Regions from separate parts of the Homo sapiens genome. Here region 2 is linked to region 1. Evidence: promoter capture Hi-C in 16 types of primary human blood cells and fetal thymus (Javierre and others, 2016). All regions are on one chromosome and are shown on one strand. Each heading gives the region's core, a stretch centred on a gene start or on the middle of the fragment in contact. The rest is flanking DNA. Distances are from core to core; before and after follow the strand shown.

Region 1 (3,468 bases), core at 454-2,953:
TTCATATTGTTAGCTTGTCTTCTCTCTTTTCTTCCTGGTAAATATGGCTAGAGTTTTATCAATTGCATTAATCTTTTCAAAACATCAGATTTTAGTTGCATTGATTTTCTTCTATTTTTGTTTGTTTTCTATTGGTCTCTATTCTTATTCTTATTATTTCCTTCCTTCTGCTTATTTTGGGTTTTTTTGTTCTTCCTTTTCTAGTTTTTTCCTCTAAGCACTGATTTGGCAGCATCCTCAAAATTGTGATATGTTTCTATTTTTGCTCGGTTCAAAGTATTTCATAACTTTCCCTGTGATTTCTTTTTTGACTCAGGGTTATATGGAAGTATGTTGCTTAATTTGTAAAATATTTGGGAATTTTCCAAAGATCTCTCAATTATTGATTTATAGTTTAATACCATAGTGGTCAGAGAACATATTTTGTATTATTTTAGACTTCTTAGGGTAATTGATACTTGTTTTATGGCCCAAATTATGGTTTATATGATCATTGTTCCATATGCGTAGGGAATAATATGTGTCCTGTTGTTGGGTGAAGTGTTCTATGACTGTCAATGGAGTCAAGTTGGTTGATAGTATTTTTCAAAACCTCTATACTTTTTATTTTTTGCTACTTCTATCAACTCCTGCAAGAGAAGTGCTGGAATCTCCAACTATAATTTTGGATTTACCTATTCCTCCTTTCAGTTCTGGAAGCTTTTTACTTCATGTATTTTGAAGCAATGTTATTAGGTATATACACATTTAGAATTATGTTCTCCTTATTAATTGACATCTTTAGCATTATGGGATGTTCCTCCCTCTGTATGTTTGTGTGTGTGTGTGTGTGTGTGTGTGTGTGTGTGTGTGTGTCAGGGTATCTATCACCTAGGCTGGGGTGTAGTGGCGTGAACATGGCTCACTGCAGCCTTGACCTCCTGGGCTCAAGTGATCCTCCCATCTCAACCTCTCAAGTAGTTGGGATCCCAGGCATGCGCCACCATGCCTGGCTATTTTTTAAATTTTTTTGTAGAGCTAGGCTCTCACCATGTTGCCCAGGCTGGTCTCAAACTCCTGGGCTCAAGTGATCCTCCCACCTCAGCCTCCCAAATTGTTGGGATTACAGGCGTGAGCCACTGAGCCTGGCTTCCATTTGGTTATTGATTGGCTCTAATTTTTACAAATTTAAAATATTTTATTCAGGAAAATAACTTTTGCTAATTGCTTTTTCTTATTTGTAGACATTAATGTTTTGTTTGGGAGCATAACATTTAGTAATTTTTAAAAAGCAACAAGTAGGCCGGGCACGGTGGCTCACACCTGTAATCCCAGCACTTTGGGAGGCTAAGGTGGGTGGATCACGAGGTCAGGAGATCGAGACCATCCTCGCTAACACAGTGAAACCCCGTCTTTACTAAAAATACAAAAAATAAATTAGCCAGGCGTGGTGGCACGCACCTGTAATCCCAGCTACTCAGGAGGCTGAGCCAGGAGAATCACTTGAACCCAGGAAGTGGAGGTTGCAGTGACCGAGATCACACCACTGCACTCCAGCCTGGGCTACAGAGGGAGACTCCGTCTCAAAAAAAAAAAAAAAAAAAGAAAAGGCAACAAGTCAAGTAAATATATGTTAGGTAATGGACAAAAAGCTAGATAGTGGGGAGTCTCATCTCCTAATTCTTCTAATCAAACTGATGATGTCACTGGGGAAAAGAGGATCAGTTGGAACCTGGTGTTTGGCAGTTACCAGAGGAGCTGTGCCTGGGCAGAGGGTACCCAGGAGACACCCTGGTGCCCTTAACCTCCAAAGCAGGCAACATTGTGTGTCCAGGCCTGTGGACCAGAAACACAGGATGTTTTGTGACTGACAGAGTGATCCAAAATGGAGAAGGATGACCCCCCACAGTTGGTGACTCCCACATCAGTGAAAGCCATCATCCTGAGGATTGAGGCTGCCCAGCTAACTCGGGCTCAAGAGGTAGCCCCTGAGATGAAGGAATCACTCTTACATTGGGATCTGATGCGGAGACTGGGGGCTGATCCCAGGTTTGAGTGAGATTCCAGCTCTGGGTCCTCAGAGGCCCTGGGATATTCAGCAACCTGGGTCTGCAGACAGATTAGTATAAATTATCTCTCTCCTAAACTTGGCATATACAGGGTGAGCTGAAAGCAACCACCCGCCTGAGGCAGGGCTGGGGCCCGGGAAGGGGGCAGGAAGCTCGAGGATAGCCCTGAGGCACATCGTGGTGGTGTGGTGGGTTTTAGAGGGCAGGAGAAAGGACCCAGAATCTGTTCTTGGCAACCCTCCAGAATCCCCCAAGCTGAGCCCAGGAAGTTCATAGGGGTTGGGGAAATGTCCAAAGGCTCAAATCACCCTGTACACGAGGCTCTAGTACATTTTTTACTTGAGCCTCTGATCCTAGAGTTTCTTGGGGCCTCACTTTTCCAAGCTTCTGTTGCCTGTGGATCCTTGTGAGGAAAGACATCCAGAAACCCCCAGCAACCTCTGAAATTCTAAAGAAATGTTTGCTGTGGGGTTTTGGTGTTCTATACTTTCTTGACCTTCTTAATAATCACAATGATAATAAAAGCTACCACTTTTGTGTAATGTGCCAGGTACTATTAAAAGCACTTTAAAATATTTAATTCATTTAATCCTTACAGAAACCCTGTGACATAGGTACTATAATGATTCCCACTTTAAATATAAGAAAACTGAGACCCAAAGAGGCTAAGCGACTTGTCCAAGGTCACGCTGCTAGCATGTGGCTTCTGGCTCAAGTCCACAGCCCTAACACTACAATCTGCTGCTTCTCTATAGGATATTTCTACCCAGCTCTCAGACATTTTGGACAATGTCAATTGTGTCATCAACCGCTTCCAGGAAGAATTAGGATATGATTTAAAAGAAAATGCCAAATCTCAGCAGAGAGATCCAAAGGGCAAGAAGAGATTCATCTTGCTGGAAAAAATTGCCTCCTTCTCCAAAGATGCTATGATGAAGGAGAAGCACCTGTATGACATTCTCCGCTGGCTGGGTGACTGGGGTGAGTTTGCAGGCTGGGCACCGTGCCTCCTCTGGGAGGGGAGTGTGGGTGGCGAGCACAGGGACAGCACAGGACACATCCCCTTCTCCAGTGAAGCATTCCACCACTCGTGTCACAGCACATCACCTCCATGCTCCTGAGGGGCAGACACAGAAGTGTCCAAACATCACAGATCATGACATTAGCTGAATATATGATGAAGCCTAAGTCACGGGTCCATTATGACATCTCATTTTTGTGCAGGATAGAAACTAAATTCAAACCCACATTAGCTATTTTATAGAGCACCCCTGGGTGATATTCAAAGCACTGAATGACCTTTACTGCATGGGCCCTGATGCCAGCTGTGAGCAACTGGTGCAGCCATTTGGGTGTGGGCCAGCTGCATTAAACCCTAAAGCTAAGTGCTACCCCCCACTCAGCTCAGAGTCATCCCATC
Region 2 (3,468 bases), core at 257-2,756, 250 kb after region 1:
CAGTCACTTGCCCTCAAGCAGCTTTGGTATAGTTAAGAAGAGAAGACTTGCAAACATGAGACAGAGAACAATTTATATGGCAACATGCAAGAAACTTATTGATAGAACAGTACAAACTAGATGGGAATACAGAAGGAATTCAAAGGGCAAAGATTACTAGAGGTGGAATTAATCAGCAAAGGCATCATTTAGGGATAAACCTTAAGCTAGGTCATAAAAGAAGTGTAAAGATTTGTATTAGCAAGGCTAGGCATGGTGGTTAATGCCTGTAATCCCAGCACTTTGGGAGGCTGAGGCCGGTGGCTCACCTGAGGTCAGGAGTTCGAGACCAGCCTGGCCAATATGATGAAATCCTGTCTCTACAAAAAATACAAATATATTAGCCTGGCGTGGTGGCGGGCGCCTATAATCCCAGCTACTCGTGAGGCTGAGGCACAAGAATCACTTGAACCCAGGAGGCGGAGGTTGCAATGAGCCAAGATCACACCACTGCACTCCAGCCTGGGCAAGAGCGAAACTCCATCTCAAAAAAAAAAAAAAAAAAAGATTTAGCAGAGAGGAAAAATAATTATAGGAAAGAAGAAGAACATCAACCAAAGGCAGAAATATCAAAACAAACACATTGATGGAGAAGAATTAGAGCCTGAAGGGAGATGGGTCTGAAATGATCAGTCATCTTGGCTGTGCAAGAAAAGTCAACTGCTAAGACGAAGTAAGTTTGCAGGCACTGAATATCAAATTTACTGAATATTAAACGTACACTCTCTCCTGTGGTTCATGGGAGGGAAAGGGAGGAAAAAGCAAGAGAAACCACGTCTAAAGTGGGTAAGGATATGGAAGGAGGGGTGGGGGAGTAAAACAAGCCTCAGTGGCCCTCAGATCTGTGACTGGGAAACACCTGAACCAAAGACGTTTTATGTCCCACAACCCCTTCCCATTCTTTTCTTTTTTTTTTGAGACAGAGTCTCGCACTGTCACCCAGGCTGGAGTGCAGTGGCGCGATCTCAGCTCACGGCAACCTCCACCTCCCGGGTTCAAGCGATTCTCCTGCCTCAGCCTCCCAAGTAGCTGGGACTACAGGTGCGCCACCATGCCCAGCTAATTTTTTTGAAGTTTTAGTAGAGACGGGGTTTCACATGTTGGCCAGGATGGTCTCAATCTCTTGACCTCGTGATCCACCTGCCTTGGCCTCCCAAAGTGCTGGGATTACAGGCGTTAGTCACCGGCGCCAAGCCCCATTCCTTTTTTTTTTTTTAAGAGACAGGGTTCTCACTCTGTTGCCCAGGTTGGAGTGCAGTGATGGGATCATTGCTCACTGCAGCCTCCAGCTCCCAGGCTCAACTGGTCCTCCCATTGCAGCCTTCCCAGTGGCTTGGACTACAGGTGTGAGCCACCAGGCCTGGCTAATTTTTTTTTTTTTATAGAGATGGGGTCTCCCCATGTTGCCCAGGCCGGTCTCAAACTCAAGCAATCTTCCCCACTGGGTTCAAGTGATCCTCCTGCCTTAGCCTCTCAAAAGTGCTAGGATTATAGGCATCAGCCACTATGCCTGGCCTTTTTTTTCCCCACTCTTGAGACAGATTAATAAATTTCTTATTTATTTATTTGAGGCAGGGGCTTGCTCTGTTGCCTAGGTTGGAGTACAGTGGCAGAATCATAACTCACTGTAGCCTCAAACTCCCGGGCTCAAGTGATCCCCCCGCCTCCGCCCATCATCACACCCAGCTCCCGTTCCTTTTCTGGTACTAATTCACCTGAAATGTGCCTGAGCCATTGATTCTAGGAAAAATGCCCTTTTAGGTGTTGCTTGCAAAGCCAGGCTCACATGCTGACTCAGTCACTGCCCAGCAGATGTTCCCCACAACATTTCTCAACCCAGAATTGGGACTGAGGTCTGGCACAGAATGGGTTAAAAGATTCCCTTCTGGGCTGGGAGTGGTGGCCTGTAATCCCAACACTTTGGGAGGGCAAGGCGAGCAGATCACCTGAGGTTGGGAGTTCGAGACCAGCCTGACCAAAATGGAGAAACCCCCGTCTCTACTAAAAATACAAAATTAGCTGGGTGTGGTGGTACATGCCTGTAATCCCAGCTACTCAGGAGGCTGAGGCAGGAGAATCGCTTGAACCCGGGAGGTGGAGATTGTGGTGAGCTGACATGGTGCCATTGCACTCCAGCCTGGGCAACAAGAGCGAAACTCCGTCTCAAAAAAAAAAAAAAAAGATTCCCTTCCAAGTTTCCCATACAGGGCACTGTTTTACTGCTTTGTTCTGTTGAAACTTGTCAGTAACGTTTAAACCCAGAAAGTCCAAGATCCTTGCTTAGAGTCATAATAGTTTGCAAATAACCAGATGGACTATGGAAAGGGTGAATGAGAGGTGGGGAAAAAGAAGAATAAGAAAGAAAAGAGAGAACAAATTATTGAAATGAAGTATCTTTAGCTGGAACCCTACATAAATTTTTTACTTTTATTGCTCAAAACTCATCTTAGCAAAAACAAAACAAAACAAAACAAAACAGTTGAACAACTTTTAATCCCTTGAGGCGACTAACAGAAATACTGCAGGGAACATGAAGCAAAAGAAAAACATTTTAAATCACCTTCTCAGGGTGGGAACTTCAAAAGCCAAAGCACTGGCATGAGATGTGCGTTCAAAGTTCTAACATGAAATAGACAGCTCTAGATTCCCCTAGGAGATTAAATGACAACTGAAAAGCATGCTTCAGTTGGAGCTTGCTTTGAATAACACCCCAAATCCAACTTCACAGTTGCTTGCTCCTTCTCAGCAAAAGGAGAGGACTGAACTCTGGTAATGAACCTGCTATGGAGGTGCCACTACCACATTTTTTTTTAAGTGAAGGGGACAGCCGAGGGACATATTTTACCATGACAGCCTTGTAGCGCCATCTGCAGTTCCTAGCTAAGACTACAACAAACCACACGTCTCCAGGCTTGTTAGGACCACCCCACTGTTCAAGAGAAAAGAAAACTAAGACATAGAGTACTAAAGTCAGTGAGTCCTCAAAAGCCTCCTGGGTCCTAGAGTAGATGCAAACATAGCTCTAAGACACAGTGCCTAGGAAAAGATCTAAGGGCCTCAGTTGACTATAAACTCAATGAGTCACACTTACATAGCAACCAAAAAAAGCTAGTAAATTTTTAGGCTGCTGGATTTAAAGGATGATATATTGTTCAGACCTTGAGAACGTAACAGCCCCACAGTACCCCGTTCTGTCTGAACACGTCTCAGAATTGCATTTAGTTCTGGGCACCACAATTTAAGAGCAATATTGACAAGAGCTATAAAAAATGTTCATACCCTTTGACCCAGTAATCCCACCCATGGGAATTTATTCTAAGGAAATAATTCAAGAGAAGAGATGAATTAGAGCCATGAAGATATCGATGCCACATTATTTACAACAACATTATATAAATGTTTATCAAAAAGGGAATATTATACAGCTTT

The links. Contacts are between HindIII fragments. The CHiCAGO score rates a contact against its expected background, and 5 or more counts as called.
Region 2: a fragment that was not itself captured here is called in contact with the fragment with the promoter of FAM186B in region 1 in 3 of 17 cell types (endothelial precursors, M2 macrophages and M1 macrophages); the score reaches 8.3 in endothelial precursors.

Annotation. Positions count from the first base shown.
Region 1 is chr12:49,603,874-49,607,341 of GRCh38, reverse strand. FAM186B (family with sequence similarity 186 member B) reads left to right here and starts at 1,703. Exons shown (of 7, transcript NM_032130.3): 1 at 1,703-1,960; 2 at 2,804-3,029. The coding sequence starts at 1,865. The HindIII fragment of the contact is 1,733 bases long and covers 702-2,434 here.
Region 2 is chr12:49,358,275-49,361,742 of GRCh38, reverse strand. No RefSeq gene overlaps it. Among named protein-coding and RNA genes, the nearest start is that of SPATS2, 7.5 kb to the left of the region's middle. The HindIII fragment of the contact is 5,412 bases long and covers 1-3,468 here.